Regions from separate parts of the Homo sapiens genome. Here regions 1, 3, 4, 5 and 6 are each linked to region 2. Evidence: promoter capture Hi-C in 16 types of primary human blood cells and fetal thymus (Javierre and others, 2016). All regions are on one chromosome and are shown on one strand. The core of a region is centred on a gene start or on the middle of the fragment in contact, and the rest is flanking DNA. Distances in the headings are between cores, read along the strand shown.

Region 1 (3,951 bases), core at 766-3,265, 220 kb after region 2:
GAAGATGATACTGGATTGTGGGACAATCTGGTGCCCATAAAGTCATAGCCCTTAGACTGGCCATGGCTGCCAGTCTAGCCTTTATTTGCAAGGACTCGACCAGGTATGAGGAAAGAAGCCAGATACCCTGCCTCTGGGCTGGGCCTGCCAGACTGGAATCCATTGCTAACCAAAGTCCCCTTACCTGCTCCACATGCTAGATGAATATTCAGAGTGACTTTGTGGGTAAAGGAATCCTTCACTCTATCACTTTCAACATCCCGCAGGGCTGTGGGGCGAGGGAGATGATGTAGAGTTTGCAAGGTGAAAACCTGTAATAATATTGAGACCACAGCAAGCCGGGCTTTGCATTTGGTTACAGACTTTTGTCCAGCAGAGTCGATTATTGTCTTCATTTAGGACTTCTGATTGCTGTCTAAAGCCAGACAACTTGAAGACTAGGTATTCTGGGTCTTTCTGAGTGCTTACTTGGGTTTTACATACAGAAGAAAGAGAATTGGAGAGAATTTTATCTCGTTGAAGGCAGGCCAACATGTGCATCGATAAGGATGTTATCATCCTTGGAGCTTTTGTTAGCTATGTGCTGCCTTAGGCTCTTGCTAGCAATGAGATGATATTTCTTCATAGTAAGTATGGAGTTATCCACTTTGTGGTCTTGACATGGTTCATGTTAATATAATGGCAACTTTAAATCAATTTTCTCTCTAACTCTGTAATGCATCAGAGAACCCTTAGTGGGTACATGACCCTTTTATCAATATATATAACTTGGAAGAAAATGTATATTTCTCTATTCTAGGGACTGGAATAAAACTTCAATATCTAATTTGTCTTACTATAACAAATACCGCCTGAAATAGTCATATAAATAACTATAGCTTAAGAAAACTATCAAAAATGTGTGTTTTATTAATATTTTACTTTTCAGGTAAATAAGTCCCAAGCTGTCTGAGCTATAAAGGAATCTGTGTGTGTGTGTGTGTGTGTGTGTGTGTGTATGCCATGTGTCTGTGTGTATGCCGTGTGTGTGTGTGGTTTTTGCAGTTTATGGATGTAAGGAACTCTCTCTGAAATGTGTGCTTGAGAGCGCTGGAGCTCAGAACTAGACTTTGCTACTGACCTCATATTTTCATTTGGGGGCTACCTAAGCTTGGTATGATCCACAGCATTCTTTTTTCATTTTCCTCAATAATCATGATTTAAAACTTACCTAATAAAAGACAACTTCAGATTCCTAACGTTCAAGCTCTAAGATATCTGGGGAGAGGGTGTCCAATGTTTTGTGAACAGCTCTTTGAGACAATGCTGCTGGAACCATCCTGAACAATGACAATGGAGAATAATGTTTTTCCTCTTCTCCAGCAGCCTGCCCCAAGTAACCCGCTCTTGCCCCACTATTTACTTCAAGGTAACCCAGAACTGGTAAAACCAGAGGCACAGGTGCCGCTAGCATTGCCACAGAGTCAGGAGCTGAGCAAAACAGACGCTTACTTACTCTGGCCTCTTCCTTTTCTCTTTCTGCTTCCTGCCCACTTCACTCTTTTCCCTGCATTCTTTCTTTCCTCTCTGCTCACTTTGTCCCCTCCCATTTGGAGAAATAAAGCATTGAACTGACCCTTCACATATCCATCTGCCGTTCTATAACTCATCTTTATCTGCAAACATCCTCTCTAGACTATTGGTTTTTACCCATCCCCTCCCTTTTGGCATTATCTTCTGGAACTCCTGGGATCAGGATGTCACCCTATCACTCCACTAATGGCACACATGGCATCCTTTTAGTCAAATCCAGAGCCTTTTTCTTCACCCTTTACTTTCCTCGGAACTCTGCAGCACTTGATAATTTCCAGCAGCCTTTCTTTCCTGAATCTTCTTTTTCTGTAGCCACTCTGGTTTCCCTTCTACCCCGTGGACTGAGTGCTGTGCTCTGCTTCACCAGCCCTAACTGTGTGTTAGTTGGGTGTCTTAAGTAGGATGATCATGTAATTCTTCATCCAGACCATGATATTCTTGAGAATTAAAGGATGCTCAATTGACAACAGACAATAAACAGAGATTGTCCCTGGCAAACCGATATGTCTGGCCACCCTCTCCTTAAGGCTCAGGAGGAGAAGAAAGTGGAGAGATCTCAGGGCAGGATATGAATGAACATAGTTCAAGGAGCTTTCAAAGTCCATCTTCAGGTTTCTTAGTTACTTCTGTTTAGAATCTCAAGTTAAAAATTCAGCTTCATATTTATAAAAGGATCACGTTATCTGAGAAGTGTCAGAGCAGGTTTGGGAGAGAAGAGACGGGTGAGGAGAGAGTTCTACCTGAGGCAAAGGCAGAAGTGGTTGGACCAGGTCCCGCAGAACTCCGTGAGTTCCAGTCACAGAGTCTGCCCTTTTAGGTAAAGAGGAACTTGGTGCTGAAACCGCTTCCAGGCTCTTCTCAGCCCAGGGTTGCCCAAGATCAGTTGTACTGAGTGGCCGGCAGGGTAGGCAGCCATGATGATCTTGCACAAAATATTCCAGGAACTGTAAGTGTCAAAGATGTTGGACGTGGAAAGAAATAGAGCAATTGCATTGAAAATGTAGAGGATGAGAAAGTAGCTGGTGGCTTTGATGGCCCCTATGTGAGCCTTCATGCTGGGGTCCCTGGACCCTGTGGCATTGCTTCCCATGTGTAGGGTGTGTCTCTTGAGAGAGAGGATCAGCAGGGTGGCTGCCAGGATGAACATGATCAGAGGAACGAAGATCCCCATGTTATAGAAAAATACCAGGTTGACCATATTGGTCTCAGAGAAGTACTTCTTCTCCGTGGAGTTGGAGGAGGGGATAGGAATGGAGCTATTCACATACACATTGAAGACATCTCTCGAGAGAGGAAAGCTGAAGCTTAAGGAAACCAACACTGACAGCCTGAGAAGCCAAGGCATCAGCACTATGATTTTCCTCTTCATCAGGAAGAACAAAGGATGATTGAAGTTTGCAATTCTAAGACAATAGAAGACTTTGAGCCAGGCAGCAAACCAGAGATTGGAATGGTTCAGAAAGACAGTGATGACTTTGAAGAGGATATACACTGAGTTTTGGTTATAAACAATTCGGAATAGCAGACTGAAAATGTTCTCCAGCATCATCCAAATCTGTAGCAAGAGCCTGGAAAAGCTCAGCATCAACATAATGCGGTCACCAGTGGGGAGTGTTTTGCCCCTGGCCCACTCAGCCCCATAGATGGCCGTGATGAAGCCACTCCCAAGGATGCCAGTGATGCACTCTATTCCGGAGACCACCAAAGTGAAGGTGACCTTGAACTTGGATATGTCTTTATCTGTGGCATCTGTGTTCACCGTTGCCATTCTCTTTGATCCTGACTTTCAGGTTTCTGCGCCAAGAATGGGTAACTGCTCTGCAATCTTCTGACCCTTGCTCAATGTTATAATTTCTGCCGCCCTCATTAATGGTTATTTCCAATTTTTCTCCATTTGTTTATCACATGACTACAAGTTAGAGGCTTCACATGCAAATAATGAGAGGATCTGGTTACTGGGTCTGTCTCAATTTTTCATAAAGATACATTTGTCTTGGGCTTTCAGAAGCTCACTGGAAATAATTTGAGACATGTTTCTAGCTCAACACCTTCTTACCTTATTTACTTTAAGTCCACATTTACCTGATAAGCAATGAATACAAGGCCTTTTTACTTGTCTCACAAGATCTCTGTTACCTGCTAAATTATTTGTAAAAGCTCATACAGCTTTTAAAATCTGTTTTCCCCACTTCTTTTCTTGTCTCTCTTATTTTGGGAGAGAGTTTTATTTTGATAGTTACCATGTTTGTGAATAAGAAATTCCCATAAGCTCATATATGAACATCTTTTACTTAGAATTGAGTTTCTTCCAAAAAGGCCTGCTATTATAATGTCCTCGAATAGTATATAGAAAAGCCAAAATTGGATGCTATTCGAGTT
Region 2 (3,905 bases), core at 1,003-3,502:
ACAAACATGTTTCAGCAGAACAGGGAAGCAGGAGAGGATTGGAAGGCACACGGGAAGACCCTGCAAGTGACTCATTGGCAGCACAGGGGTACAGGGAGGGGGAGGAGCGAGACAGATAAGGGGATTGTTTTCAGGAAAAAAGTTTAGAGGCACATTTGTTGAAGAAGGGAAGGACAATAAAGAGGGAAAGTTGGAAGATTTGTGTAGAAGTAGAAATCCTTGACCTAGCAGCAGAGAGAAAACAGGCAGGAGCAGGGCTAGGATCACAGATGTCAGCCTTGAAAAGCCAAAAACAGAGACCAGTCCTCTAATGTAGAGTGTGGTGGAGGTAAAAACCAGGAAAGGAGGCGGAGAGATTTTAAAGTGAATGGAGGAAACTTGAGGGTTGTCTCGTTTGAATGATTCAGGGAGTAACTGAACTTAAAGAACGTTTGAGAGGAGCTGGGAAAAGCAGAAAGGCAGTCTGAACATGGTTCACCAAACACAAAGGCTTTTTCTTCTTAAATCTTAGGTCTTAGACAGATACAGATAAACTTCCCCATGTCAGTAGGGGAATTACAATAGGTCCCAATATCAATCAAAAGAAGTTACATCTGAACCCACAGACCTTAACAAATACAGAGGAGACTAACAGGCTGGGCTATTATAGAGAACATGAACCACATACAAATCATAGACCCCTGGCACTCAGAGGGATCTCCAAAGGTCATCGGAGAATACACACATCCCTGGCAACACACACTGCCACACACATGCACCAATTACACTATGCTCTGTGTAGAAGGTTTAGACACCAGAAACTCTTCCATGGAAAGAAGGAGAGAGGCACCACATTAGATGGCCAGAAAACTTTGAATTGATGAGAAGGGAAAGGTGGTTCACAGGACAAAGCCTGAGAAAACTGCAGTTCCAAAAACATGCCCCAGTTCGATTGAACAGATAAAATATTGCATGAAGTTTGAGGATCTTTGCATCCAGTTCCCAGAATGATTATTTTAAATACGAAGAGATCGATCACAGGAAAAATAAAGGCTTCTGGATTCTTTGACCACATCAGGTCCCACAGGAACCATGGCCACATGAACTATGCACTTGGTGAGTACATAACATGACACTAGCCCATATTTCAGGACCTTTACTCTCACCTTGTATCCTATTTCATTGAAGTTATTTTTCTAATCATTAACTGTAGCAACAGAGAGAAAACATTCAATGTGGCAAAGAGAGAAGCTATGTCCCTTTGAGTCCATGCCTTCTCCACAAGAATCTCCTTGAAGTTTTTCATCAGCTGTGGCTCAAGGTGTCCCACACCTTGAGGAACGACGACTCTTCAGCACAGCTCTCAGCCTGCAGTTGCTGAAGAGCAGAATGATGGGGTGAACTGCTGCACACAGATAAATCACTGACTCCCACACCCAGAATTTAAAGTCCAGAGGTGGAAAAATACCTGCAGCACTGAACACCAGTGACAGGAAATATGAGATGAAGAGCATGGCAAAAGAGAGGAGAGCCAGCAGAGCCTTTATGTGTGCCTGCACACTGGGCTCTCGGAATCCTGAGGTTGTAAGGAGAGCCTTCTTCCTGTGTCTTCCCAGAGATGTGATGAGCAAAATCATGCAAATGAAAAAGACAGCAGTGGGCATTGTCCAAGTAATCATTTTTAGAGGGAAGAGATAGAATTTCTCACAGTAGCTCCGTATGCTATCGCCAGTGACATTCCAAGGTTGTAGATGGTTCCTTAAATAGTTCTGATACATTCTGTGGTTGCCTATGAAAAATAGAATGGTGGTGAAGCTGGAGAGCCCTACAGAGCTGAAGAGCATCCATGGTAGCCACCCAGACAACTTGTGCTTTAGCCAGAAGAAGACAGGGTGGGTGAAGGTAGCAATTTTCACACAATAGAAGACACTGAGCCAGGTAGAGGACCATAAGGTGGCAGCATTCAGGAAGTCCCACTGGAAAGCTAGAAACTGCAGTACAGGGTTGTATGGGAAGGCCATCGGATGCAAGAAAACATAAATGGTCTTACCCATTACCACTGACTGCAGACAGAAGCGAGAGGCCCCTAGGCTAACCAATAACTTATCACAAGGCAACAACATTCTCCGTAGCACCCACTCCACGCCCAGAGCAGCAGTGATGAAGCCATTGCCTGCTATTGCTACCAGGCGTAAAAGGAGTAAAATGGTAACCAAGATGATGGCCTTCTTGTCAGTCACCGAAGATCCTAGAACCATGTGGTCTCCATTCATCTCTCTGGTGGACAAGATGGGTCCCAAAACTTCAAGGGCTATCTCTGTTGGGTTGCTCTGGAAGGTCCTGTAGGATATGTTTGTCCCTCCAGCTGCCCCAAGCGCAGAAGCTAGGCCAGAGTAGAGGACGCAGGCTATCAGAGGAGGGTGAGAGGTTTTTTCTTCTCAGAGTAGATGCAAATATTGTCAAGGCTCAATTTTCAAAGTCCCCATACCTGCCCAAAAATTTGCCTGCTCTTCTGCCTATTCTCTGCCCATGTCAACATCAAAGTGGATAATATATCAGGCCCTGGCATTTAGTGTCCTTACACAGGAGGTTATACTTCTCTAAGCGGACACCTATGACAGGACCATGCACCTGCCAGCTCAGTAGTATCATCCGTGGGGCACACCCGCTACTGAGACAGCGCTCACATCCACGGGGGGGGGGTGATTGTTATGTTGCAGGCATTGTTCTGAGTGCTCTCCTTAGTTCTCACAACAACTCTATGCGGGGAGTAGTATGGCAAGACCCCTTTAACTGAGACAGAGAGAAAACTGAGCAAACCTTTACAGAGAAGGATTAATTCAAGTCTTATTACTCACAGTGACCATCATCATAAAAAAAGAACACTGGAGACAATTATACATAATGAGGCAGGCAACTTTTTTCAAAATTTAAAAATATATATTTGATAACTGGTGGCCTCTAAAATAGCACTTCACAGAGGAACCCCCAGTAGCGATAAGCCAATGGGATATGGCAGAATGAGCCCTGTGCTAGGAGTCGAGACAGCCTTTAGTCCAAACTTTACCCCTTACTGTGAGTTGCTGGATATGTCAGCCCCTCTGCGCCTCATTTTGTCCATCTGTAAAATATGAAAAGTATCCTATGTTCTAATTCACAAAGATGTCTTAGAATCTCGGCTTAGAATGAAAGAAGACATGAAAGATAATCTTACAGATAAAAGAAATAAGACCCCAAATTATATATTACAACTCCCACCTAAAGTCACAGTTACACAGAGGAAAGACCAAGATCCAAACTGATTCCAGGACCAGGAATCTCTGCCATGGTTAGCAATACATGTTACACCTCCATCTTCTTCATCCCTAGCTGAACTCAGAAGCCCAAGTTTTGAGTCTTGTCACAATCACTACGGATCCTCAAGCAGTTAACCTCTCTGAACACCCCCCTTTCTTCACCTATAAAAAATATGGGTCACAAATAAATATGACCATAAATATGGTAAATATATTGGAAATTATAAACCTCTGCATATGGACAAGGAGCAATGATGATGATGACAATTACTTTATTAGAATGGCTATCTTCTATTCCATCCATCCTGTGGCATAATAAGTAGCATAAGGAGAATTCAGGAGAGCATCAGGGATGCAACAGAAGTTCAGGGCACCAAATGTCAGACCACTGATATCAACCAGAGAAGGACAGAGTAAAAAAAAGACCACATTCTTTATAGAAATCAGCTTCAAAGAGTCAAAAAAATCAGCAATCAACACCCAGGTGAGTGTAAGTAGGTTAACGTGTCACAGGGAGATAGGAAAGCAGGAATTGTTCTGGGTCAAATACAGCAATATTGAAGGCTCAGGATCAAGTAACATGACAGTAAGGGGATTTGTAATGAATACACATCTGCTGACACCACAACC
Region 3 (4,324 bases), core at 314-2,813, 240 kb after region 2:
GATCAATATTTATGGAATTCAAAATGTTTAAATACTTAACTATTTGCTTTTCTTTGTTATTATTAGTATTATTATTAGTAGTAGTATTACCACGCCTGGCTAATTTTTGTATTTTCAGTAGAGATGGGGTTTCACCATGTTGGCCAGGCTGGTCTCGAACTCCTGACCTCGTGATCCACCTGCTTCAGCCTCCAAAAGTGCTGGGATTACAGGCTTGAGCCACCATGCCCCGCCTCTTTGTTCTTAATTCTGTTTTCATTTGTTCTCTAGCCAAGACCCCAAGTCTATAATGATCAAGAGGGTTGTTTTATTTTTGACAAGTGGAAACCCACATGTTTCTGAAAAGTGGAGTGGTGGTGGTGGTGGTGGTGGTAGCATAATCTGGAAGACCCCTAAAGAAGGCAGTGCTACCTGCCATATTTGACTTGGGGGTCAGAGCGAGAGTCTGAGTTGGAGAGTTGGGAAGCTAGAAAAATGAAGGACTAAAGTAAGAGATATTCCTTATTTCTCCTTTTCCTTTTCCACATATCTTGAGAAAGAGAAAGGTTTTTAGTTCAGCAGAAAATGGGAGATGCTGGGGCAGAGATAAAAATGCTCCCCAAACATGGCAGGGACTTCCTTGTATTTCTCGTTCTCCTTGTAGTTAGGTTGAGCTAAAGGAGATGCTACTAATGAAATTTGAAATCTTAGGGTCAGACATGTGGGAATGCACTGCCTACCCTTCCATCTTGGCAGTGACACGGGCTCATTCCCCCCAGTTTCCAGAGCTGTGTCCTTTTCATTCCTCTTTCCAAATCCACCTCCACTCAAGCTTTCAATCTGTGCCTGGGCTCTGGTTTGAATGAGCCACTGATATATTTGCAGCCACCGGGGATCTGGAGTGCAGATGCAAATGGCAGTGTTCCCTGGTAAGTGTTGGTGACAATTGGATCTTTCTCTGATTTGCATTCCCAAGGCCTGCAGGTTTTCAGAAAATCACATCTTATAGGCAGTTCTGGGGAGGGGGGAGGTTTATTTTCAATGTCAGCTACAAATGCCGGCCCATGATAATTCTTAGAATGAAAGACCTCTCATTTGCAAAGGAGAGGATAGTTAGAGCCAGAACAATTCACTTAGCAAAAATTTGGGCCCAAAAATATATATATAGGAGAAGGGATTGTTGGTGGGTAGAGAGGCCTGGAGATCAAGAGCAAGAGATGAGATAAACACAAGTTTGGAAGCCATTGGCTTGTGAGGGGACCTGAGCACTTAGAATAGAGGAGACCCCTCAGGGAGAGCTTGTATGGAGAGAGAGAAAGGTGCATCCTGACCCCATCCTGGGCATTTCTCTTTGAAACTCAGCCTTGTTATAATTCATTTCTAATTCTGATATCAGCAGTGAGGGTTCATCTAATCTATTCTCATCACTTCTTGAGCCTCTCAGCTCTCACTGGTCCTGGCTCTTGCCTGGAGATGATTTTACTCAAAATTCTAGTCCAGGATTTAGAATTGGTCTAAGTACAGATGTGCATCAGGAGGCTATTTCAAAATCCCAGATGAGCTCATACATAAAGTAAGGATTAATTTTTTATTTTGTGAACCAATTGTGTAAAAAAAAAAAAAAACAACAATGCACATTAGGAAAGTAATTCATTTAATTTCCATGACCCAGCCCCTCCTGCCTACAAGCCCCCCTCCCCCATCCCATGCAATCCACCTCATAGGTAAAAACATATTCTGGGCAAACTGACTCATTTCATGTCACATTTATCCCACTCAAGTTTGTCCCTCCTGCTTTGAGCCTGGATTCCACGTAAAGGTGGAAGGTGATTTGGGCTGGTCTCCAGGCAGTCACCACCTGCAACCTATTTTCTTCTCATCACGACACCTACGTTCAGTGTCACCTTTTCTTCTCCCTTGGGCTGCCCCTTTCTTGCTCACTCCCATGTTCCAATGCCAGCAGCTCTGTCTTTGTGCTCAGCCATGCTTGTTGTTCAGCAGCATTCCTCATTAGAATCCCATTATTTGATGGTCAGAGTAGGGTCTCCATGGTGATACAGGCACAAGTGTAGCCAGTATTCTGCCACCGCATCTTACCTACTTGGCAGGCAAGCTAGAGTTGGCCTAAATTCTGCTTTTATCATTTATGTGTTTGTTCTTATGCTTTTAGGAAAAAAAAATCCTGAAATAATGGTGAAGGACAGCAAGTATTTGCCTAGAGTGCATGCTAAGAAGTCTCCATAGATGTTTTTCTTTAAGTATCCTGACCGCTTAACATATTGATGAAGACCTCTTATTTCCAGGTCAACAATCAGCTGTTACCAACTTAAGCTTTCTAAACATTTTCTGTGAAACAAATTTTTGCCAGTAAGAAAAGGAAATTGGGAGCTGCCACTGCTTAATTAATTTGAAGCTTTGATAAGCTTTGCCAGAGAGTCGCATAATAGAATTAGCAAGTTTCTTAACAGGTGAGAAAGCACATGAGCATAAACAAAAATAGGATAAGACTATCATCAATGGGGTTTATGCACCAGCTTAAAAAGCCAGTTTGGGGGACTTTTATGACTCTGAATTAAGATTTGTGCAATATAAGATTGTCCAGGATAAAATATTTTGGGCACCAAATATTAAGCTTCTGAAATAGACCCAGAGGTTCTTGTATGATAAAAAAAAAGTATGTATAAGGTTTTGATTTGATTTTTTAAATAATGTGTTCACTACTTCCCTTTCTTCTGAGACTCCATAGAGAAAAAAATATCATAACACTAAAGAGAAGGGAATGAGGATGGCCAAGAGCAGACTGGAGATTTCATCCTATTTCTTGGTTGTGGACAATCAGAAAAAGCATATTGTAGATGAAGTGGAGTAAAGGATGCTCAGAATATGCATGTCATGGGCCTCTGGGAATGTGGTGGCTGATCAGGCTGCTAGAAGCCTGGAGGGCCTTGGCTATCGGATTCCTAGCTTTGGATAGCAGGAGCGAGACATTGTGCAAAAACCAGAGGCATCATTAAAATTCTGTCTGCCATATAGCTGCATCATTGATGCTTTCCAGTGCCTTCCTTGCCACTGCATACAGAACCATCGAAAACCTTCATATTGAGAATTCTTTTCTAGAAAAATTGAATACATTTCCAAGGAAGAACTAGGGCTTCAAGTGCAGATATTTGCACATAGATTAAACCCTTTTTTTATTATGGCATTTTGAATTTCCAGGCTAATGTCAGATTCCACACCCACATACCTAAAAGAGGAGCCAGCCTGTCAAGGTGGCCCAGTTACAAAAGAGAGCTTCCAATCAGCCTTTCCATTCAGGAGACCGTTCTACTGGAGAATGATACCTGCTTACCCAAAACAGCCTTTCCTTTTCCTTCATGAATTACTAATCAAGGATGATCAGAAATAGGAACAAAATCCACAGCCTGAAAGAGAAAGACCAAGCTAAACACCAAGAGTGAATTACCCCTGAAGAAATAAAGATCAAAGAAGACAAAAAATTTAAGCTTGTGTCCTTAGAGGAGGCACAGAAGATATTGCCTCCATAAAATAAGAGAAGGATGCTATTAAAAATAAACAATTAAGAAATGAGAAGGTGAAAATGTAAATTAGTAAGTCATTATGGAAAACAGTATGGAAATTCCTCAACAGTTAAAAATAGAACTAGCCATATGATCCAGCAACCCCACTACTGAGTATATGTCCAAAGGAAATCACTGAGAGGTATCTGAACTCTCAATGTTTATTGCAGCACTGTTTACAAGAGTCAAGATATGGGATCAACCTATGTGTTCACCAATGGGTGAATAGAGAAAGAAAATGTGTTTTATATATACACAGTGGAATACTATTTAGACATAAAAAATAACTGGAATACGGCCTGCACAGTGGCTCACACCTGTAATCCCAGCACTTTGGGCGGCCAAGGCGGGCAGATTGCCTGAGGTCAGGAGTTCGAGACCAGCCTGGCCAACATGGTGAAACCCTGTCTCTACTAAAAATACAAAAATTAGCCCGGCGTAGTGGTGCATGCCTGTGATCCCAGCTACTTGGGAGGCTGAGGTAGGAGAATTGCTTGAACCCAGGAGGTAGAGGTTACAGTGAGCCGAGATTGTGCCACTGCACTCCAGCCTGGGCAACAGTGTGAGACTCTATCTCAAAAAAAAAAAAAATTGTAGTACTATCATTTGTGGCAACATGGGTAAACCTAGAGAACATTATTTTAAGTGAAATAATCCAGGCACAAAAAGACAAATACTGCATGATCTTACCAATATGTGGAATCTTAAAAAGTTGATCTCATAGAAGTAGAGAGTAGGATAGTGGTTATCAGAGGCTGGGGAAGATA
Region 4 (4,357 bases), core at 1-2,500, 160 kb after region 2:
CTCACCGTGCATTGCCTGAGGGCCCTGGGCTCTCAGTCTGCATTGATTGGAGCTGGGACCGAAGCCCCCATTCCAGAAACCGGACCAGGAGATAGGCAAACAAGAAGAAGCCACCCAATGTGAGAAAGAAATAAGCAACGGGGGTGATGTCCGTCTTTATGCCCAGCAAAGCCAGCCCCAGTAGGAAGGAGGCGCAGCACAGGAGGAGAAGCGGCTTCTCCAGTCTCCCCAGTAAGTGCATTGGCACCATGGCCCCTCCCCAGGCTCCTGCAAAAAGACACACAGCTATTGTGTCTACACTAGCAATTGGTGTCATGGCTGTGTCAGATACCAAAGTAACCATATGATATTTCTTTGTTTGGTTTCTAGGTTCTTCAATCTCAAATAAATCATCTGTAGAGTCCCCTCCAGTTCCGAAATTCTCTCTATGTCTTGGAGTGTGTGGAATAGCCAGGAAACCAGCCCAGGAGCTTTGACTCCCAGCCATTCTGTAAGTTGACTGTGTCATGGCTCTGCCTTCTTTCCTTTCTCCTTCCCTGTAGTCTCCCTTCCAGCTTTGTCCCTTACCACCATCCAGGATCCGGTCCTGGGCACGCCCTGCCTGGGGCTTCAGTGCACACTGGCATCTCTGGAATTCAGGTGATGGGGCAGGCCCTGCCCTTCCTCTGTTATTGCTCCTACTGGATCTCCACCCCCACCTCCCCAGCCAGAGGCCCTCAATCCAGCCCCGTTAGAGAGAAGAGGGGAGGGAGCCCCACTTACCCTGTCTGACTCTGTCTTTTCCTTTCCTCCGGTGTTAGCCCATGCTCCAGGTGGAGGGAGAAAGTGCACACAGGCGCACCAAAGCCACAGGGACACAACTGCTTGAGAAACAATTGTACAGGCAAAGGCCCAGCACAATGGCCGGAGGCCCTGATAACTCCTGTCCTCTTCTAGACCCCACATCTGCCAGGGCCCTCCTCTACCCTCTGCTGATCCTAACTTGTTAAACTCAGTTTGCAAATTTCCTGCCAGGAGGTAGCCCAGTGGCTGGGAGGCGGTGGGCAGGGGAACTCTTTTCTTTCCTTGTAACAGCAACAACCCGAGGCAGCCCATACCCCAGAAACAGCCTGTCAGAAGTTGCCAGCGCTCTGTGTAGCAAGGAATTGCAGATTCCCTCCTCACACCTCGGTCCCAATCCCATGACCCTCCCGACCCTCGCACCCACACCTGTCTCAGAAGTTCGTCGCTCACCTGTCTCCACAGACTGTAGAAAGTAGATGGGGTGGGGGGTGGTGGGAAGGGCCGGAGCGGGTAGGTGGAGCCCACTGGCCCCACCCTCTTTTTCTGTCCCAATCCCTGTTCTGGCCCAGTCAGTCTCCGCCCCTTTTCTCCCTAAGGCTGACTTCCAACTGCTGAACCTTGATTTGTTCTGGTTTTTACTCTCTCCACCCACCCATGCTGTACCCTAATGAGAGTGCACCCCTGACTCCCAATGATCTTTGTACTTAGGACCGGAGTTAGCATTAACCTTTCCCTCTCGGCGCATATTGTATGTTAATTACAGCCCTGGGCAGTTTGCCTTCTATTTGGGTAATTTACCTTGTGCGTCTCTCCCAAGTGACTGGAAGCGGAGACCTCGGCTTATTTAATCTCTGTAGATCATCACACAGTGCACTGCACACAGAAAGTAATGCTGTGGGCATGGAATGGTGTGTCCTGCTTCCATTACCCAAGTGCTATTTTTATGGACTCCCTGTATTCTGCAGACCTGTCAGAAGTGTTAGTGTGTATATTTCTTGACCCAGTTAACTCTTGAGTCTTCAAGATCCTCCTCCGAGGTGATGCTGCTTTGGAGCCTGCTCCAGTGTATCCACATCGTTCCTTCCTAAATTTGTCCCAGCATTTACCTGGTTATGTAGCATTTTTCTGCTTACTGATTTTCCTTCCACTGTGAGTTTCTCAAGGTGCGTGATTAGTTTTAATCATCTCTGAATCCTGGAAACTAACATGGTTCCTGAAACGTGGTAGGTCACTAACTAGAAGGCTCCCCTCTCACCAGGCCTCACCACACCTGTGAAGATCAAAGAGCTGTTCTTTTTAGTTGTGGGTCAGGCAGTTAAGTCGGAGTAGGGTAGGTGCTTGGAGGTAGAGAGTGAGTAGAAGCATACTTGGTCCTTGAGCCAGAGGGTGAACAAAACTGGGCCCCGTTCCTTCAGAGGGTGACCAGCAGACAGACCGAGGGAAGCTGCAGACCGTGGGCACAAATCCAATCCAGGCTCCCCAGGGACAGCTGGGGTGGGGAAGCATAGGAGAGGGTGTGTGTGTGTGTGTGTGTGTGAGAGAGAGAGAGAGAGAGTATGGGAATGAGAATAACTGTGTCTGTAGTGGTAATAAGTGTGGGCACTGGTGGGATATTGAAGATTCTCTGTCCCAGAGCCCCAGATCGATAGCAGAGAGAGGAAGGAGACATTAACAGGAAGGCTGTGGGAGTCTAAATGAGGTGTGTCTCTATGCAAAGTAGGCACAGGAGTGAGGGGGGCTGATTGTTGTTCTGTTTCAGCCAATTTCCTCACTGTTCTGCTCATAAGGGGAAAGTACAGCTGGAATCAGGACTGCAGTCTACAGTTAACATATGAATAGAAGGAAATTGGCCAAGGGTCATTGGTGTGTGTGATAGGAAAGGGGGTTTGTTAAGGAGTGAGTTGTGGGAATGGGAAGGTGTAGGCTAAGAGGCACGGGGCCAAAAGGTATGGGCCTGAGGTGTAAGGGGAGAGTCTGGGAGAGGCGGACCTTTGTAGCTTAAGTCTCTTGGTTGCCGGAAGGAGAGTACGATAGACAAGAACTGGATCCCAACTGGAGAGGCTAGACTGGTGGCTGGCTGTGCCCGTTCATACATTCTCAATTCCAGTAATGTAAAATCAATTTTTAAAAATTGCATTTGTTAAAAGAAAAAACATGACAATATTTAAAAGCTAAAGAAAAAAAAATTGTCTATCTTCTCATTATCCTAACACGGCCATTTAAAACGTTTATATATTTCTTCCAGACTGTCCACATGCAAACCAGAATATACTAACCACTTTGTATCTTTAAAAAGTTTTATACTTTATATTGTATATATTTCACCCTGATAAAGACCTTATTGTAGTAATTTCAAACAGCCATGTAATATTTCATTGAATCGATATGCCATAATTTGATTAATATACCCTCATGATACGTTGCTCAATAACACTGAGCCTATTTCACTCAATATTTTTGGCCATTAAAATAATGCAGGTTGCCGGGCGCGGTGGCTCACGCCTGTAATCCCAGTACTTTGGGAGGCCGAGGCGGACTATCGCGAGGTCAGGAGTTCGAGACCAGCCTGGCCAACATGATGAAACCCCATCTCTACTAAAAATACAAAAAGGAGCTGGGCATGGAGGTGTGTGCCTGTAATCCCAGCTACTCGGGCGGCTGAGGCAGGAGAATTGCTTGAACTGGGACCCGGGAGGCGAAGGTTGTGGTGAACCGAGGTTGCGCCATTGCACTCCAGCCTGGGCAACAAGAGTGAAACTCTGTCTCAAAAAATAAAATAATTAAAAAATAATAATAATAATAATGCAGGCTGGGCGCAGTGGCTCATGCCTGTAATCCCAACACTTTGGGAGGCTGAGGTGGGCGGATTGCTTGAGCACAGGAGTTTGAGACCAGCCTGGGCAACATGACGAAACCATGTCTCTCCAAAAAAAAAAAAATACAAAAATTAGCTGGGTATGGTGGCGCACGCCTATAGTTCCAGCTACTCAGGAGGCTGAAGTGGGAGGACCGCTTGAGCCCTGGAGGTTGAGGCTGCAGTGAGCTGTGATCATGCCACAAAAAAATACAAAAATTAGCTGGAGGTGGCGGCACACGCCTATAGTTCCAGGTACACAGGAGGCTGAGGTGGGTGGATTGCTTGAGTCATGGAGGTCGAGGCTTCAGTGAGCCGTGATCATGCCATTGCATTCCAGCCTGTCTGCATTCCAGACCCTGTCTCAAAAATTAATATAATAATAATAATAATAATAATAATAATAATACAAGAGACAGAAAGTAGATTAGAATTTGCTAGGGGTGGGGAGGCAGAGGAAGAAATGGAGAGTAACTGCAAATGAGTTTCATATTGGGGTGGTGAAAATTTCTAAAATTATATAATGGTGATGCTTGCACAACTCTGAATAATTCTTTAAAAAACCCCACTGCATTGTACACTTTAAAAGGATGAATTATACCTTTGTCAATCAAGGAAAATGACTGAGGCAAGTCTCAATTATTTTAGGAGATTTGCCAAAGTTAAGGAAGGGCACCCGGGAGACAAGTCTATGCCTTTTTTTAAAGATGATTTTGGTGG
Region 5 (3,936 bases), core at 54-2,553, 200 kb after region 2:
ATGTGGGAGTCAAAAGGCAAAACATCAATTGGCAAATTCAATACAAAGTGTGTTTTGTGTGTGCGTGTGTGTGTGTGTGTTGAGGGAAGGAGTGTTAAGGATGTTGAGAAAGAATCAGGGAATGCTTCTCAGAGGAAGTAACCCTAAATGAAGACTTGAACTGTAGGTAGGAAGTAAGTAGACCGTGGATAGCACTGTAGTCAGGGTTGCAATTATAGAATACAATAGACTGCATAGCTTATAAACAGCAGACATTTATTTCTGGTAGGTCTGGAGGCTGGGAAGTCCAAGATCAAGGAGCTGGCAGATATGGTGTCTGATGAGGGCTCACTTTCTGGCTCACAAATGGCCATCTCCTCCCTGTGTCCTCATGTGGTAGAAAGGACAGGGAACTCTCTGGGTCCCTTTCATAAGGCCACCCACCCGATTTATGAGGGCTCCACCCTCATGACCTAATCATTTTCCAAAGCCCCCACTTCCTAATACCATCACCTTGGGGGTTAGGATTCTAACCTATGAGTTTTGTGGGGACACACACATTCAGCCAATAGCAGAGAGGAAGAGCAGATAGATATTCCATACAGAGCCAGCAACATTATGGAAAAGCCCATTGTCTGGAGTCTTGAGGAACTGAGAGAAATTCTCTTTAGCTGAAGGATTTGAAGGAGGGCAATGGTGAGAGATGAGGCTGGAGCTACGGCAGGTAGAGGCAAGGCAAAGTCATGTGACAAGATTTACAATCTCTCCTGGAATAACCTCAAGCTTAGTGTGATCTTAAAAACGTATTTTATAGAAAAGAAGTAATTTCATTGCCTAAGTACTCAGAATTGCTTCCTGTTGGTGTAGAAAAACATACAGGAACTGTTAGTAATTTACTCTTGCGATGAATCACACAGCCACATTTATTTTTATTGTTTGGCAAACACACATGTAGCTTACTACATCAGTCACTCTTCTAAGTACTTTATAAATATTAACTAATTTAATCCTTTTAACAACCCTACAAGGTAAGTACCATTTTTTAGCAACTTGATATATTTGCCATAAAGATCACCCATTGTAAGTGTACCATTCAATAGTTTTTAGTATATTTATACAGTTGTGCAACCATCACTACAATTCAGCCTTAGAATGTTTTCATCATCTCAAAGTCTTTTCTTTTTTTCTTTGGTGCTTGCTACTTTGTAGTCAATCCTGGTTGAGAACCTGCACTCAATCCCACTCCCACCCCCTAAGAAACCACGGATCTTCTTTTTGTCTTTATAGATTTGTCCTTTCTGGAAATTTCATATAAATGGAATCATGCAATACGTAGTTTTTTTTTTTGCATCTGACTTTTTTCTACTTAGCATAATGTTCTTGAAGTTCATCTATGCTGTAGCATGTATTTATAGTTTTAAACATTTTATTGCTGAATAGTATTCCATTGTATGGATGTAACACATTGTTGATGGTCATTTGGATTGTTTCAGGTTGTTGTCCATTATGAATAGTGCTGCTGTAAATATTTGCATTCAAGTCTTGGCATAGACATGTGTGTTCTTTTGGATAGATACCTAGGAGTGGAATTACTAGGTCTAATGGTAAGTCTATGTTTAACTTTTTAAGAAATGGACAAACTGTTCTTCAAAGTGGCTATTTAGGTAGATACTATCATCATCATTTCCCTTTTATTGAAGGTGAAACTTCTACAGTGTCATAAAGCCTGTGAATGGTGGCAGTAGGAATTGAACTTATGCCATTCACCACGAACCTCTGTGACCTTAACACTAAACTTTGATGGCTACTTCCTTTGTTTAAACTGTCATCAGTTTCAAAAAAAGATAATAAATAAATAAAGCTTGCCTTCTTTCCCTTACCTGATCTTGGTTTCAAAACTGCTAGAGAATACGTTGTCTAGTTCTGTCCATGGAATTATGCCTGCGGGAATTTCCGTGATGTTCTTTTCCTTCTTTGCTTCTAAGATGATTCCCTAGGCAAATCTCAGGCCACTCAAGTATTTTCATTTTCACGTCCTTTCTGTGAGAAACATGAACAAACCTAGGGAGTGTTTTGAAAATGAGATTTTTAAACTCTCCAGTGACAAAGTCCTCTTTCCTGGACCAATAACTACCTTCAAAATAACATTCTAGCTACTGACTTAGTCTGTGTGGCTGGTGGATTTCTTTTTAATACAGCAGCTGGTAGGCTACAAAGCACGTGTCAGTGACAATGCATGGGCTGCCTGTCAGGAGCTCCCGAGCCAATTGCTCAGAGGACCCTTCACCTCTGGCTGGCAATTGCTTCTTTCTGATGTTAAAGGTCACCACAGCAATCACCTACTACTGCTCTCAAGATTTGATGTGATCACAACACTCTCTGCATCTTCACTTTGCCAAGGATTACAAAAGAATGAGGCAGCCCACTGTCTAACATGTTCGGAGCAAACTAGTAAGGAGAGGCACTGTGGGGCTTTTAGGTTAACATACACATGATTGATGATATGCAGGAAGGATTGTTCTTGAAGAGATAGGAACTACCTAGAGCAAAGACTCAAGCATACTTAAGGCGACAGCAAGATTCCTCTGGGGTCTTTGAGTTCTGGTAATACATTCTTAGGGCCTGGATATTTTCTATCTAGGTGCTATTATTCTGGGAATGTAACTTGCCAAAAATCATGTAAACTAGTAAAAGGCAGAACTGCGATCTTAACCCAGCTTCCAAATCTTAAGCCCTAAACCATACTGCCTGCCAAGACTCCTATTCTCCCTAATTCCTTTGTGAGCTTCCAGGCTAAGTGTTCCACTTTTATATTCTCATGCCATCTGTGTTTTCTCTTATCATGGACCTTACCATATTACGTTGAAGTCATCAGTATCCTCCACCATGCTCTGTTTCTGCAGGGAGGAAAACGCATGTGTGTGTTTTTAACCTCGGATTCGGAGAGACTTGAGTTAATCATCAACTTTAATTTATAGCTCACTATTGTACACGAAGTCCCTCCTTCGTTTTTTTTTTTTTTTTTTGCTTTTGGATGGAGTCTCACTCTGTCGTCCAGGCTGGAGTACAATGGCGTGATCGCAGCTCACTGCAACCTCTGTCTCCCGGGTTTAAGCAATTCTCCTGCCTTCTACTCTCCTGAGTAGCTGGGATTACAGGCATCTGCCACCATGTCCAGCTAATTTTTGTATTTTTAGTAGAGACAGGGTTTCACCATGTTGGCCAGGCTGGTCTCGAACTCCTGACCTCAGGTGATCCGCCCGCCTGAGCCTCCCAAAGTGCTGGGATTACAGGCATGAGCCACCAGGCCCGGCCCCCACCTTCATTTTTTTTAAAAAAATCTAATTTTTCTCTTCACTCTTGATTCCCCATTCACATTATTATTGACAATAATAATAGGAATAACAGTGAACATTTACTGCCAGGCATTGTTTAAGCACTTTATATTAACTCAGTTATTCCTCACAGTAACCCCCATAGAGTCTTACTATTTCTATTTCCCATTTTTTTCAGACAAAGAAACGTTACAGAGAAGTTAAGAGACTTGCTCAAACGGACAGAGTAAGTGTGTGGGAGAGCCAGGATTTGAACCCAACTGGTCAGGCTCCATAAACCATACGGCTCTTTCAGACACATGCGCTGTTCCGGTTGATGAGGTCCTTGGACGTGAATATCACTTCCTACAACGTATAGTGTCATTTTGTGTGTGAGATGTTTTTCATAAACATAAATGGCATTGGGCCACACAGCTCTGCTTCTCATAGTTTTCACTCTAGACACGCCCTCTATGTCGCTGTTGGCACATCGAGTTCACTGCTTCTGACTGCGGCATAATATTCTATCCTGGCCACCCATCACACTTTACTGGTCCATTCTCCTTAATGAGGGCACCTTCAACTTGCTACCTCCACAAAAATGATGCAAGAAACATCTTTATTTATAGCCTTTCATGAACCT
Region 6 (4,166 bases), core at 1,074-3,573, 180 kb after region 2:
ATGTTTTGAGCTATTTCCATTTGTTCTCACTCAGGCTCCTATATAACCCTGGCATTAGTTATCTCTTTTCGTCTTTTTAAAGCCTCTTGGAACAAGTCTCCTGCCTTCCACTCTGGATGTGTTGGTGAGGTTTGTGTTGGAGTTTGTGGAGACTTGTGAATACTATATCCCTCCCCATCCAGGGGTTCCAACACTGAGCATCTTTCTCTCACTGACATCTTTCAGCAAATAAATTCTTCCCATATATTGTCCCTTTTGCACTTCCCCTTTCAACCTTGAGATATCCTTTTGAGGATCCTTAGTTCCAACTTTTCAGTAGTTTGTGCCCTGAATCACAGACATCCTTTCTTCCCCAGTAATTATAACCTTTTCCATGCAATAAGAGACCTATTGTCTTCTTTACCCCCAAACGCCAACTGTTCTCAGATTCTCTATGAGTGCAGTTGGGGTGGAGCCAGGACACTCACCGCCAGGATGCTCTGCGGCTCGGTGATGTCTTCATTCTGGGAAGAAGAGAAGACAGCAGGAAGGCGGTGCGGGGAGAGGGGTGTGACTGGGAGGACAGTAGATCCCCCGGGCGGGGGCAGGATCATGACCCTGAAAACGTGCCTGGGGAAGGTCAGAAAGTCATCCAAGGTCCTCCCAGAGGATTCCCAGAGCCCCACACTCACCCTTGACCAGACGCGCATCCACAGCTCCCGGGACGCTTTCTCCAGCATCTCTGGATGCTCCAAGTTCACGGCGGTGAGGAAACGCATGGCAGACAAACTTCCTGTGGGGCAGAGGCACCCAGAGGCAGGGCTCCTCTTGCTGCTTTCCTGGTGGAGGACTAGCTCTTCCTTGCTTCTGACATCCCCCAGAGCTCCTCCGCCCTCAGCCTCTCACCCAAGGTTCCCATGACCTATTTGCCTGCTCTTCTTCCCTTTCATGCCCGGCAACCTTCAGCTCGCTCAAGGCTGATCCTGAGGTTTCCCAAGGCAGGCTTCACTTGCTTTAGTCTCCCGCAGCCCCTCCATCCTATCAATCCCTCAATCTCCGACTTCTGTGTTTTTCACTGGATACCCTGTCTACATCCCACTCTCTTCACCTTTTTCAAGCATCACAGACAAGAAATCCTTGGGGAAGTGGATGGGAATCTGGAGATGGTGTCTCAGGAGCTTTAAGTCATTTGCCATGTATAGTCCTTTGCGGGGAAGCAGACCTGGAGGCTTGTTTCCTGCCAGGAGAAGGTTGGGCACGCTAAGTGAGAAAAGACCTAAGGGTCCCAGGTTTGGGGACCTCGACGTGGGTTTTGGGCAGAGGGCAGCTTCCTTTTTTTTCTCTTGTTGTTTCGCTCTTGTTGCCCAGGCTGGAGTGCAATGGTGCGATCTCAGCTCACCGCAACCTCCGCCTCCTGGGTTCAAGCGATTCTCCCGCCTCAGCCTCCCGAGTAGCTGTGGTATACAGGCATGCACTACCACGCCCGGCTAATTTTGTATTTTTAGTAGAGACGGGGCAGAGGGCAGCTTTCTGGCTGCCAGTGCCAATATAAGGACCCGCTGGGGTCGGCTCTCTTGGGCCACTGAGATCACCCCTGCCCCGACCCTCCCTTCCTACCACTGTCTTTCATGATCCCTGTTATGAGGCTGGGCCGCAACTGCAGGTTGATGTTCCAGATATTCTGATACCGGCACAGGATCTGCGGGCAGAGGTCAAGAACGATTGCCAGTGTGCAAGATGGAAAAGTGAAAGAGCCGAGGGAAAGGGAAGGGAGGCGCTAAGTGCAGAGCAGGGGTTATGCGGACACCCTACATTGTTTGGTTTGAAATTGGCAAAACTCTCCTCACTACTAGAAATCTATTCCAGGATCTTCGCTCCTGTGGCCAGTTTTCCCCAAAACTGCCATCGTTGGGCTAAGAGGTGGCCGTGTTCTGCATTTCTCCCTGAATGTTTGGAGCCGCCCCTCTTTCCACCACCGTGGGAAACTGCAGTCGGGATATAAAGGCTCGGGTTGGAGCCAGCGACTCTATTCCGTTTAAAAGCACAAAGTGACCTTCAGCCCCGGAGCTCTCCCTGCTTGCCTTAACCCCTTGGGCGGCGCCAGGAGTTACACGAGACCTCTGTCCCGGAGCCCTGCGCTCACTCTTCCCTCCGCCCTCACTCCCCAGACACTGCCGAGGCGACCCCTCCCAGCGTCACCTCGAAGCCCAGCCAGGAGTAGGGGGACAGCACGTCATAGAAGAGCTCCACGGTGCGCGGCAGGGGCCCCATGCTGCAGGCTCCGGAAGAGCAGTGGCAGCAGGAGCTCCTTTTCCCGGAACCCGGCAGAGGCTGCCCAGCTTCTGGGCCTGCCTGGGACCGCCCACCGCCTTAGCGCGCAGCCTCAGAGAGAAACTGCCCTGGTAGAGGTCCACCTCCGGCGCAGCGGGGCAGGGCCAGCCTACGGCCCCCAGCCAGGGGCGGGGTGGGTAGGGACCCCTTGGGGAGCGCGCAGGTGTGGACAAGGGGCGCTGCAATCGCCTTTGCAAAAATTTTAACAGTGAGAAAATTACGAAGGTGAAACAGATCTGAACTCACCAACTCCATCGTGCCTTTAACCTCCAAACTGCCCTTGGTCATTCCTGAGCATGGGACGAGCTAATATAGGGAGAAATTTAGTTTATAGTTTAAATGATAATAGCCCTTCCCCAAACTAAACCAGTTTTATAAAACTAATAAAAGTCCACAAGTTTAGGATTATGAGAGGGGCCTGAATTCTGCTAAGATGTAGGCATTAACAATTACCAGACATTGTTCCAGAGGTCACAAGCTCTGCAACTTCCCCAATTATTCCTGTAAATAACCACTTTTGTAGAACCTAAGACTGGCCTTTGAAGATACCTTCTCAGACTTTTCCATTTCTAATGACAGGATGACTCCACCTGGACCAGTGACTCCTCTGTGGCCCGCATCCAAATGCAACTCGGTGCACTGAGGACGGTTTTCCACACCCCTGTGATTGCATCCCCAACCAATTAGCAGCACCCATTCTCTAGCCCCTTGCCCATCAAACTATCATTAAAAAACTCTAGCCGGCGGGCATGGTGGCTCACGCCTGTAATCCCAGCACTTTGGGAGGCTGAGGTGGGTGGATCACTTGAGGTCAGGAGTTCAAGACCACTCTGGCCCACATGGTGAAACCCTGTCTCTACTAAAAATGCAAAAATTAGCCGGGCATGGTGGCATGTGCCTGTAATCCCAGTTACTCGGGGGGCTGAGTCAGGAGAATTGCTTGAATCCGGGAGGCAGAGGTTGCAGTGAGCCGAGATCATGCCACTGCACTCCAGCCTGGGTGACATAGCAAGACTCCCTCTCAAAAGAAAAACAAAAACAAAAACAAAAAAACCCACAAAGTCCCCTAGCCTCTGCCTCCGAATTTTGGGAGGCTAATTTGAGTAATAATAAAACTCTGGTCTCCTGTTTAGCTGGCTCTATGTGTATTAAACTCTTTCTCTATTGCAATTCCCTTGTCTTGATAAATTAGCCCCATCTGGGTAATGGGCAAGATGAACCCATTGGGCTGGTGTCAGGGTGACTGTCCTGCTCTGCAGTGGAGTCTTGTGGGAAGGGGGTAGTTTGAGATGCCTGCAGTGCCTTTCACTTAGCTGTGCCCCTTGGGTGAGCCACTTGACCTCTCTGAACCTATTTCCTCATCCTGCATACACATGGGGAATATCTAATGATAACACCTGCCTTATGACGAGTTGTGAGGAATGAGGTACTCCAATAACTGCTAGCTCTTATTATTGTTGCTTGGCAGTTGCATGAATCTCCTAAACTGGGGCAGAATAAGAAGTTCTCAGAGTACACATTTTCTTGTGTTACCTTTGTCAGAGATTTGCACAATGTCTGGGACACATTTGACCATCGATACATATATTTTGAGTGAGTGAAAAAAAAGAGGGACTGGTAGAAGATGGAGAGGCCTCACTATAGATAATTTTGGTGATAATGGAAACGATTGGCCCTATTCGTTTTCACAAATATGTGAGTCATATTGTCTTATATTGGGATTACATTTACTGCAAAGAAACAGAATTTTAAAATAATTCCATTTAACTTTGTTAAAATTATTTTTAACATTACTAATTTAATAAATTGGAAAACATATAAAGATTCCACTTTTCATTTGTATCAATAAGGAAAAC

The links. The method cuts DNA at HindIII sites, captures the fragments that hold promoters and counts their contacts. A CHiCAGO score of 5 or more calls a contact.
Region 1: a contact is called between a fragment that was not itself captured here and the fragment with the promoter of TAS2R60 in region 2, in 6 of 17 cell types (M0 macrophages, M1 macrophages, non-activated CD4 T cells and 3 more). The highest score is 7.6, in M0 macrophages.
Region 3: a contact is called between a fragment that was not itself captured here and the fragment with the promoter of TAS2R60 in region 2, in 1 of 17 cell types (neutrophils). The highest score is 6.7, in neutrophils.
Region 4: the fragment with the promoter of TMEM139 here is called in contact with the fragment with the promoter of TAS2R60 in region 2 in 4 of 17 cell types (monocytes, neutrophils, M2 macrophages and 1 more); the score reaches 6.1 in monocytes.
Region 5: a contact is called between a fragment that was not itself captured here and the fragment with the promoter of TAS2R60 in region 2, in 4 of 17 cell types (M1 macrophages, M0 macrophages, endothelial precursors and 1 more). The highest score is 10.0, in M1 macrophages.
Region 6: the fragment with the promoter of GSTK1 here is called in contact with the fragment with the promoter of TAS2R60 in region 2 in 14 of 17 cell types (neutrophils, monocytes, M0 macrophages and 11 more); the score reaches 25.7 in neutrophils.

The regions. Positions count from the first base shown.
Region 1 is chr7:143,221,468-143,225,418 of GRCh38, reverse strand. TAS2R40 (taste 2 receptor member 40) reads right to left here and starts at 3,382. Exons shown (of 1, transcript NM_176882.2): 1 at 2,340-3,382. The coding sequence starts at 3,340. The coding sequence ends at 2,369. The HindIII fragment of the contact is 1,727 bases long and covers 1,152-2,878 here.
Region 2 is chr7:143,441,800-143,445,704 of GRCh38, reverse strand. TAS2R60 (taste 2 receptor member 60) reads right to left here and starts at 2,252. Exons shown (of 1, transcript NM_177437.1): 1 at 1,296-2,252. The coding sequence starts at 2,252. The coding sequence ends at 1,296. All of the region lies in intron 2 of EPHA1-AS1 (EPHA1 antisense RNA 1), which reads right to left. The HindIII fragment of the contact is 8,585 bases long and covers 1-3,905 here.
Region 3 is chr7:143,201,299-143,205,622 of GRCh38, reverse strand. LOC124901764 (a long non-coding RNA gene) reads left to right here. Exons shown (of 2, transcript XR_007060567.1): 1 at 1-2,447; 2 at 3,196-3,567. Among named protein-coding and RNA genes, the nearest start is that of TAS2R40, 19 kb to the left of the region's middle. The HindIII fragment of the contact is 1,499 bases long and covers 814-2,312 here.
Region 4 is chr7:143,281,851-143,286,207 of GRCh38, reverse strand. It overlaps TMEM139 (transmembrane protein 139), which reads right to left and starts at 1,250. Exons shown (of 3, transcript NM_001282876.2): 1 at 763-1,250; 2 at 6-267. The coding sequence starts at 250. It overlaps TMEM139-AS1 (TMEM139 antisense RNA 1), which reads left to right. Exons shown (of 3, transcript NR_133932.1): 1 at 1-231; 2 at 370-490. RefSeq lists an enhancer at 25-1,224. The HindIII fragment of the contact is 11,639 bases long and covers 1-4,357 here.
Region 5 is chr7:143,242,200-143,246,135 of GRCh38, reverse strand. LOC105375546 (a long non-coding RNA gene) reads right to left here. Exons shown (of 3, transcript XR_007060569.1): 2 at 1,860-2,019. Among named protein-coding and RNA genes, the nearest start is that of GSTK1, 19 kb to the left of the region's middle. The HindIII fragment of the contact is 1,078 bases long and covers 765-1,842 here.
Region 6 is chr7:143,261,598-143,265,763 of GRCh38, reverse strand. It overlaps GSTK1 (glutathione S-transferase kappa 1), which reads right to left and starts at 2,323. Exons shown (of 8, transcript NM_015917.3): 1 at 2,179-2,323; 2 at 1,597-1,678; 3 at 1,088-1,216; 4 at 672-772; 5 at 468-503. The coding sequence starts at 2,250. The region is part of intron 2 of TMEM139-AS1 (TMEM139 antisense RNA 1); the gene reads left to right. LOC105375546 (a long non-coding RNA gene) reads right to left here. Exons shown (of 3, transcript XR_007060569.1): 3 at 2,557-2,616. RefSeq lists enhancers at 2,076-2,295, 2,114-2,408 and a silencer at 2,436-2,505. The HindIII fragment of the contact is 19,965 bases long and covers 1-4,166 here.